Regions from separate parts of the Homo sapiens genome. Here region 1 is linked to region 2. The links are contacts of gene promoters, found by promoter capture Hi-C in blood cells and fetal thymus (Javierre and others, 2016). All regions are on one chromosome and are shown on one strand. Each heading gives the region's core, a stretch centred on a gene start or on the middle of the fragment in contact. The rest is flanking DNA. Distances are from core to core; before and after follow the strand shown. Region 1 holds the start of SCO1 (synthesis of cytochrome C oxidase 1). Region 2 holds the start of PIRT (phosphoinositide interacting regulator of transient receptor potential channels).

The links. Contacts are between HindIII fragments. The CHiCAGO score rates a contact against its expected background, and 5 or more counts as called.
Region 1: a contact is called between the fragment with the promoter of SCO1 here and the fragment with the promoter of PIRT in region 2, in 6 of 17 cell types (naive CD4 T cells, non-activated CD4 T cells, total CD4 T cells and 3 more). The highest score is 10.3, in naive CD4 T cells.

Annotation. Positions count from the first base shown.
Region 1 is chr17:10,694,633-10,699,022 of GRCh38, forward strand. SCO1 (synthesis of cytochrome C oxidase 1) reads right to left here and starts at 2,901. Exons shown (of 6, transcript NM_004589.4): 1 at 2,603-2,901; 2 at 1,109-1,199. The coding sequence starts at 2,875. It overlaps ADPRM (ADP-ribose/CDP-alcohol diphosphatase, manganese dependent), which reads left to right and starts at 2,962. Exons shown (of 4, transcript NM_020233.5): 1 at 2,962-3,035. RefSeq lists enhancers at 1,878-2,701, 2,702-3,526, 2,820-3,114, 2,830-2,879 and a silencer at 3,000-3,329. The HindIII fragment of the contact is 16,251 bases long and covers 621-4,390 here.
Region 2 is chr17:10,836,170-10,841,004 of GRCh38, forward strand. It overlaps PIRT (phosphoinositide interacting regulator of transient receptor potential channels), which reads right to left and starts at 1,918. Exons shown (of 2, transcript NM_001101387.2): 1 at 1,776-1,918. RefSeq lists an enhancer at 729-1,230 and a silencer at 2,927-3,151. The HindIII fragment of the contact is 9,359 bases long and covers 1-4,835 here.

The DNA of each region.
Region 1 (4,390 bases), core at 1,651-4,150, 140 kb before region 2:
TAGGAAGACTTTTCAGATTATTTAATAATACATTTTTTAAATAAAACAAACGTTAGAATTGCACTTGAAATTCCAAACTAAAGTCAAAAAAAGCTTCCATATTCTAGAATTTTCCCGCCACAACTTTCCTAGCTTTTGTTTCTTTGTGAAACTAAAGAAACTTACTGCTTATTAGACTATGAAAATCTTACCCAATACTACTTATTATGCCAAAGAGTCTCATATATATGTATGTCAGTACAAAACTTAACACTGCTAAGTTCCTAAAGCCTATGAATTCCCAGATTTAATCATTAACCTTTGTATATAATGTTATCAAAAGAGACTCCAAAGAATGGAAAGATTTAAGCAATACTTTAAAGATTTACCTAAAACCTCTAAACCAAATCTTAAAAGTCCTAGGATATTCACTAAAATGCAAAGTTCTTATAAATAATTTCTAAATATTTCAAGATGCTAATCCAGAGCAGTTCCTGGCATTTCCTGACCAGGCTCTTTTCACCTCCCCCTCATCCACAGAGGGCATGCAGTATCTACTCGCACTATGCTCCTTGCCTGATCTCTAGGAAGCCTTCTCAAATCTCAAGGCTGGGACTTGCTTTTGCTCTCACAACATGGTAAGCTTCCTTCTGGCCTGGCAGAATCGCATCTAGTAAAATACTTTACTTCTGTGTCTGTTTCCCTTCCGTGTGCACCTCAAAGGCTCGACTACATCTTACTCATCTTCGTACCCTCCAGATTTCATCTTGCCCAGTCAAATCTATCCACAGTATATCTTTTAACATTGTTATGCAGTGGTATCCTAGCTTGGATCCTGGAACAAATAAAAGACATTGATAGAAAAACAAGTGAAATCCAAATACAATCTGTAATTTAATAGTTGTGTGCCATTTAAAATTTCTTAGTCATGAAAAATGTGTCATGGTTATACAAGATGTTAATATTAGGGGAAGCTGGGTGAAAGGTATGTAGAACCTATGCTATCTTTGCAATTTTTTGGTAAATCTAAAGTTGTTTCAAAACAAAAAGCTAAAAAACAACAAAAAAGGTGCTAGTCCATAGCCAGGAAGACCTTTATACAGGGCTGAGCAGATGATAATCTACTTACTCTCTGCCTTTTCTTTCTTGACGTGCTTCATTCCAGCCAGTAAAGCTCCTCCAATAGCAAATGTGATTGCTAAAGACTTCCAGGAAACAGGCTACTGGGGCAGGGATTTCAAACATAAAAATTCTAGTAAGATGCAAACATTTAACCATACAAACTTATTAAAGTAGTTTTTAATATACATACACACAGGCCATGATGTTAAATGTGCAAAATGTTTCAGGGATGAGAAAATGCTCAAAGTTTCTGTGGATGCAGTTAGGTCTGGGATCTGAACTACAAAGGCATTCATCTCCAGGGGAAAGTTCCCTAAGTCAGTTCTCTTCATGTAAATAAAAAAAAAAAAAAAAAAAAAAAAAAGCTCAAGTACCACGATTGTTACTATGTGTGACCCTAGCTCCAGTAATGACTTTAAAACCAATTATGGCCGGGCGCGGTGGGTCACGCCTGTAATCCCAGCACTTTGGGAGGCGGAGGCGGGTGGATCACCTGAGGTCGGGAGTTTGAGACCAGCATGGCCAACATGGTGAAACCCCATCTCCACTGAAAATACAAAAATTAGCCGGGCGTGGTAGCGGACCCCTCTAAACCCAGCTACACGGGAGGCTGAGGCAGGAGAATCGCTTGAACCCGGGAGGCGGACGTTGCAGTGGGCCGAGATAGGGCCACTGCACTCCAGCCTGGGCAAAAGAGCAAAACTCCGTCTCAAAACAAAAACCAAAATCCAAAAACACACACACAAAAAACAATTATCTGCTTATGCTGATACTGAGATAAATAGACCAAACGAAATTTGGGAGGTTAACTTAACTCTGGCTTCCAGAAGTAACAATGCCAAAGTAGAAGAGGAATCTAAAAGTGGAGCTTCTTGCAAATTACACCCATTATTTCTTTGTACCCTTATTCAACTCCCCAAATGAAGATGATGTTGGCCAACTAGACTAGGCCTAACTCATTAACCTTCCCGTAGCTCCAAAAACCCACTTCTCTTACCACAGGGTAGTGGCTCTCAAGTTATTTCTGGGTCAGAATTAGAACTCGAGAGAACCCCAAGAAAAAGGCAGATCCACACATAACTAAGTTCCACTTTTTGTTTCAATTTCAACGTATACATGGAACTCTGGATGGGGCTCAAGTGACAAATTATAAAAGTCCTCTGACTTCTCAATCACGGTAAACTTTAGGTTCATACCCTTAAGAAAACCTGAAACTTAATTTTTTTTTTTTTTTTGATGGAAACGCTAACATAAAATCCAAGTCGGGGCATCCAGCCACGTGGAGAGGGTGTAAAGTCTCAAGTTCTCTGTGGAGAACTGGGACTACCCGCAAGGCACGGGAAATGTAGGATGAAATTCCATGACCCAGGTAAGGCGCGCAAGCTAAGGACAACTTTAGGGGAGGCGGAGTAGTGTCTGAGGTTACGACCAAGTGGGATGTGGCCGCTGGGCTGGCCGACAGCCGCGACGAGCACCAGAAGGGTTCCAGGTGTGCACTCACCCCGGGCTTCGAGGGGCGCGTGGAGTCTCCGGGGCCCTTCTGCGACCACGGGGGTGGCGGCCTCGCAGTGCTGAGGGGCCGGGTTCCCAGGCAATAGCCAGGGCGCCCCGAGGCACGCCACGCCTCCGCTTGCCGCGCGCAGAACTGCCTCAGCAAGACTCTCGCAGTCCCCTCGGCTGGGCCCCAAAACTCGAGTCCGCGAGGCAAGAAGCGCCAAAGTTGGCCACCCAGAGGCCGCATAACTCGTCCGGGTACTAGGACCAGCATCGCCATGAGCCTCGGAGACCGGGTCTCCTTTGACCCTCCCCGCGATTTCCGGTAGCGTTCCGCTTCCTCCGGAAGTCGGAAGGAGTCGCTCTGTCCGTCCCGCTCGTTGGTGGCGCTGTTACATAGCCCGTAGTCAGAGGCCTTTCAGCCCAGGGGCCGGCGCACGGTAGGTAGTTCCCTGCGGCTGGAGGCGGGTCTGGCGCGGGCTGGGCGGTGCTGCGGGGCCGCGGGACAGCGGAGCGCCGGGAAGGGGGCTGCCTTAGGGGTCCAGGTGCGCGGCTGGGCCGAGGCAAGGCGGCCCCAAGCGCTGGGGGCCCCCGCTTTGGTCGTGGGCTTCGGTGACCACAGCTAGCTCCTCGCGCCGGGGACACCCCCACCTCGGAAGAGAGAACACACTGCCTAGAGACCCACGGGACTGGGCAGCCCCCATAACCCTACCTTGTCTGGCCGACTTTGTCAACCTCGTCCTGCCGGCCAAGAGGAAGTGCCAGAATGTTGACTCCTTTACATCTTTGAAATAGAAACCGACCCATTGCGATTGAAATAGTCTTTAACTTAAAAAAAATTGCTAATTAGGATAATTTGAGTGGTTAGGGCGGTCTGGAAGAACTTTAAATGCCCAGCGCTTCTAGTTATTTAACATTATAATGTAACCTAATTAATAAAGCATAGCAGTGTGTAAAGAAATATAGACAGCATGATATCCCATCCGTTAACTTAGTCTTCCTGGGTCCCAGTTTCTTAAAATACTCTCACGGACTCCCTTGCTCCCTACAGTTTCGTTATTTGAAGTTTGTTATGGGTTCCTCATCTGGAACTGCTTATGTTCCTTGTTAATGAGGCCAAGAGCATTCGTAGGTTTTTCGTTCTTTGTGAAAGTCTAACTTCATTTCATCTGCCTTTATTTATATCTTAATATCCGCAATATTAACCACTCCCTCCCCGCCCCTACCTCGGTGGTTGCTTTACAAAATACAGAGAAATAAAAAAAGGAAAATCGTCCTCTAATTATCTTCCTTAACTACAGATCCCGCTCCTGTGTGGCTTTTTTTTCCCCCATGGGACCGACTCTGAGTAGGAGAAACTCGTGCTCTGATGATTGTTGGACCAGAGCATGGTTGGTTTGCTTGTTTTCTATGAGTTAGCCAAACTAGCCAACTGTTCTGTTCTCTAACCCAGTAACGGAACATAGTGTTACCTGTGTTTCTTGATTCGCGGTTGGACTAGAATTTTCAGAAATTTCTGCCAAAGTTCTTAAATGTTTGTTCAGCACTTCAAGTCGTTAATCAAACTATTTTTTTCTATCTTATAGTTGCCTGTGGGTAGGATTTTTGCTCTTTTATCTTTGTGTATTTGTTTGCCCAGGGATAATTTTTTCTTGTAATTGACAAAAAGACATAAAAGTACCTTGTGTAGTCAGGCAGATAGCATACAAAATTATTGTTCATCTCTGATTGCCCAATTGTAGGTTACCTGATCAGCCACCCAAATTAAGATTGAAGTCAGTGTTTCTACCTGATC
Region 2 (4,835 bases), core at 668-3,167:
TAGGATTACAGGCGTGAGCTACTGCACCCGGCCAATCCTGCTCTTTTATTTATGCTTTCTCAAGGAGAGGGCCCTGCCTTTTTTTCTTCTTGTTTTCTTCACCGCCTTCCTTGCATTCTACCACCCTACACCTGTACATCTCCACCTCTGAACTCACTCCCCAGCCTTTTCCTGGTGCTGTCCTCCTTCGAACGTGCTGAAATACAGTTGGTATTAAGAGGGTTGTCAGATTTAGAGAATAAAACTACAAGGTGTCCAGTTACAGTTCAGCCTCAGATCAACAACGGATAGTTTTTTTCATGTAAGAATGTTCCAGTATTGCATGGGACCAACGCATGCAAAAAATGTATTTGTTGTTTGACAAATTCAAATTGAACTGGGCATCTCGCAATACATCTGGCACCCCTAATATTGTAAGAGATCCCGCTGTGCTGCTGTGCTTGGGCCTGGAGTTATCTGGCCCTTCCTGAGCTTCTGCCCCTCAGGCCCCACCATCTAGAGAGCTCTGATAGCACCTGGGCTGTTCTGGAAGTTGCAAGAGCTGAAAGCAGAGGAGAGAGGCACACATTACCTCACTGCTGGGAGGCTGGGCCCAGCGAGGGGAGTCTGGGGGAGAAGCGGGGAAGGCAGGATGGAAGTGGTGGGAATAACACCATGTATTATTCCTGTGGAAGACCCAGAGTGGTAAGAAGTGGAGGGTCCTCCTGTTTCCCTCACGGAGTCCCCATTAAGGCCCCACCCAGCTCCAGCTTGCCAGTGGTCATCCCCACGGTCCCTTATCTTCTCTGGCGGTGCTGTCTTCCCCTCACCAGGACATTCAGTTGGTGACTGTCCACCCCTCTGATAAGGTGAGTGGGGGCCAAGTGTCTGGGCTAATAGAAGCTAGAGGGTTTCTGAGTAAGCCGCTGCTGTCACCATGGCCATGGCCACCCATCTGTCACCTGCTCATAGCGCTTCTAGGAAGGGAAGTTTCCCAAAGGTCACAGTCAACCTAGAGGGTGCCACCCACCTCCCTTGTTGGGCCACCCGGCTGGTGCCCAGACCCTGGCCAGTGACAGGGTAGAAAAATAGCTCGGGCGATTGCGTGTGTGACCACGGCTGGCTTTACCCGGATGCAGGGTTCTCACGGCACACAGTTGCCTGACTGAGCCACGTCTTTGTCCGTGTTTGCATGTGCCTGCCTTGTTCCCCCTGTCTGAGATAAAACTCCCGAGGCAGCCAACGCACTCCACCTTGTTTTTCTGGCACCTGCCCCAGACACCTGCCACAGCTGCAGGAGGAAGACATTGGCAGCTGCAGAGGTCTGACACAGGGTGCTCAGGAGGACGGCTGGGGTCCGAGATTCCACCCATGTACTCTGGGGTCTGGGGGTGGCCTTGCACTTTCCTGTCTGGCTTTTTTGCTTCTTCCACTTAGATTTGGGAGGAGAGTCCCTGCCCAGCCCTTCCCACAATGGCTGCTAAGAGTGAAGGCTGGATGCTATAGACGCAGGACTGAAGCAGCTCTCTGCCCACAAATTCCCTTCTTCCCAGTACACAGCAAGGGGCGGCCCCCCTTCCTCTGGCCACCACTGTCTGCCAAGACCCTCAGCAGGCAGTGCCTCCAGGCTGACTTCACCCCCTCCCAGGGCATAGCCCCCTTTTCTCCGCTTGTTGTTCATGCTTGCCTTCCAACCCCAGTTTAAAGACAACACGCTCCAAAGCAAAGTTAAAATCTGCTCCTTCCTTCAGCGAGATGGAAGGAAGGGCAGAAGGAAACATTCCCTCCTTACTTACTGTCCTCGATGTCCCAGGGGAGGATGGGGGACCTGGGAATCACTTGGTGCTCGTGCAAGGAGGAAGCCGGCAATGAGTTTCTGCTCAAGTCCATGCCAGCCAGAGAAAGCCACCCTGACCACGTCCAGAAGTCAGTGTGTTGTGAATCCCAGCAACTGAGCAGGCTCCAGCAGGGATGGATGAGCTCACCAGGCAATGGCCTAATGGGTTAACTCTTTGTGAGCTGCTGGCATGGGTCCTCGGACTGTGGCTTTCTCAGCTCTGCTCAGCCACAATTAGATGAATCTTGTGAAAAATTCATGATGCTTCTCTGCAGTCTGTCTTCAAGTTTCATGGAGGCGTGCGTTCCGTTGGTGCCTGGGCAGGGCAGCTTCTCCTGACCCAGGCTCAGAAATCAGAGGACCTGGAGTTTCTGGGTTGGTGGAGGTGTGTAGTGGCCATGGTGGTGGGGATGAGTTGCCAAAGAGTGGATCAGACCCTCCGGCTGACTCAGGCTACACTGGCTCTGTTCAGTGCAGGCCTTAATAATTTGATCTGGGAACTCTCTGTGTTCTGGATGTTGGAGGGGGCACATGCAGACTTAGAAAACATCCTTGGTTGCAAGATGGCAGGGACACTTCTTGGAACTTTCCAATGCACGGGTGGGCACCCTATGTTACAAACTGCCAGGAGCCCACAACACGACTTACCTCCATCCCAGGCCTGACATCTCAAATAGAGGCAAAAGAGCTTGTTCCCCATCGCTCTTCCAATCATTCCTCATGGTGCCCTGTTGCTTTTTATGGGATGCCTGCTGCCACAATGATGAGAAGAGAATGATGCAAATCAGTGCAAGGAGGATGAAAAGGTTTTCTCCTCTATAAACCTTTACCAGACTGTGCTTCGGGAAGCTGGGTGTGAGCTGTTGAGTGGCCAGTTCTCAAGATGCTGACGGATACACTGAGGTCAGCAAAATTGCCTATGATTCTGGAAGGCATGCTGGCTCCTGCCCTGGCCCACACTAACCTGAGAACGTGGGCAGCTGTTGTTCCTCAGGATAACTGGTGGGTGGGCATCCTTGCTACTGGGAACAGTACCCTGAGGGGCTTCCTCTGTGGTCTGCCGGGAGGGCTTTCCTAGGAGCCATCCAAGGAAGCTGCTGTCAAGGCAGGTATGAGACTCTCCCATATTTGGCATCTTGAGTTCCTCATCTGTGCAATGAGCAGGAGATTCTGAGCCTAGAAGGCTCTGTAGAGGTTGCTGTGTGATCCATGCCTAGAGAAGCAGAGAGCTAGGAGGATGAGCCTGTCCCCTGAGCTGCTGTGAGGGATCAGGCTGAGTACGCCCTCTGTCCTCTGTGAAGATGAGCGTCTCTGCTCAGGGCAATGAGCAGGGAGAGGCCTGCCTTGAGTGTCCAGGGGAACTTGACTTTGAAGGTTTTTGAGGATGTGAGTTGCTTTGCCTTAGGTGCCTCTGACTTTATACTCAAATCAGTTTGTAAAACCAAGTGGCCTGGCTCGCAGAGGAACCCTAGAGTGAATTATTTTGCAATGCAAATAATCAAATGATTTATTTATTTATTTTTACAAAGTTCGGGCTATTCCCCCACCCTCTGCAGGGCACGGCAGTGTGGCAGAGTAATACCATCCTAAGTTAAACCCTTATTCATCACTCCCTCCATGTCAGGCACTCTTCTAAGCACTTTATATATATAGCAATTCACTTATTTCCCATACAACTCCATGAGGTAGCCATGTGAGGTATATTGCTATCTCTGTATTTGGCCTTGGACGAATTACTTCTCTGGGCCTTAATTTCCTCATGTATTCATTGAGTGGGATCATTACTACATCACAGAGCTTTTATGAAGATTAAATGAGAAAATGCTCATAGCAAGTGCTTAAAGAATATATACATAATATATATGCACATAATGCACATGTGTATAAGTACATATTTAAATATAAATGTAAATTGGAGGGGCAGCAAGCATCAGAGGAGAACATGTCCGGGGTAGAAGCTGTTCTGTCTGCAGACCCCCTTCCTAGCAGGACAGATGAGGAGGCATGAGGAGCCATCATGGTCCCTGGGCAGCTGACTCCAGTGTCCCGGGATGAAGAGGCCGCTACTGCAGCTGTGGTGTTGAAGGGAATGGGAGCAGGGATGGTCACTGCCTGGGGATGGCTCTTAGCCTCTTATCCACAGTGCCCTAACTCTCCACCCTGTAGCTGCTCCTGCTCAGCGCTGTGCCCCCTCACCTGGCCAGTCCAGTGTTGCACGAGACAGTGGTAAGGTAGGATGACCAGCCATCCAGGCTCACTGGGTACTGATGGATTTCCTGAAATGTGGGACTTTCAGTGCTAAAACCATGAAAGTTCCAAGCAAACCAGATGAATTGGTTTCCTTAGTAAACACTTTTGGGCAGTGGCATGTCATTTGGAACATCCGTCCCTGTGCACGTGGGCTGTCTCCTTCTGGAATGTTCTTTCTGTCAATCTTTATGTACATATGTATGTATGTATTTATTTTTGAGACAAGGTCTCACTCCTGTTTCCCAGGCTGGAGTGCATTGGCGTGATCTTGGCTCACTGCAGCCTTGACTCCCAGATGCAAATGATTCTCCCTCCTCAGCCTCCCAGTAGCTGAGATTATAGATGTGCACCACCATGCCTGGCTAATTTTTTTGTTTGTATTTTTTTTGTAGAGATGGGGTTTCACCATGTTGTCCAGGCTGGTCTTGAACTCCTGGGCTCAAGCAATCTGCCCGCCTCAGCCTCCCAAAGTGCTGGAATTACAGGCGTGAGCCACCGCGCCTAGCCCATCTTCATTTAGCTGACGCAGTCAGTCTGGCCTTGGCCCTGCACAGCCTCTGGGCCTTCGCTCTTCTGCTCTATTATACTTCTTGATGACTGTCTGTCTGTCCCCTACTTGCATCCCCTAAACTCCTTGGAATAGTTTTTTTTTTTTTTAATAAAAAGTGCTTATTACGAAAAATTTTAAACACACACACGTGCGCACGTTACCTAATGAACTTCCACAATCCAGCTTCAACAATTATCAACGTTCATTCTTTTTCATATG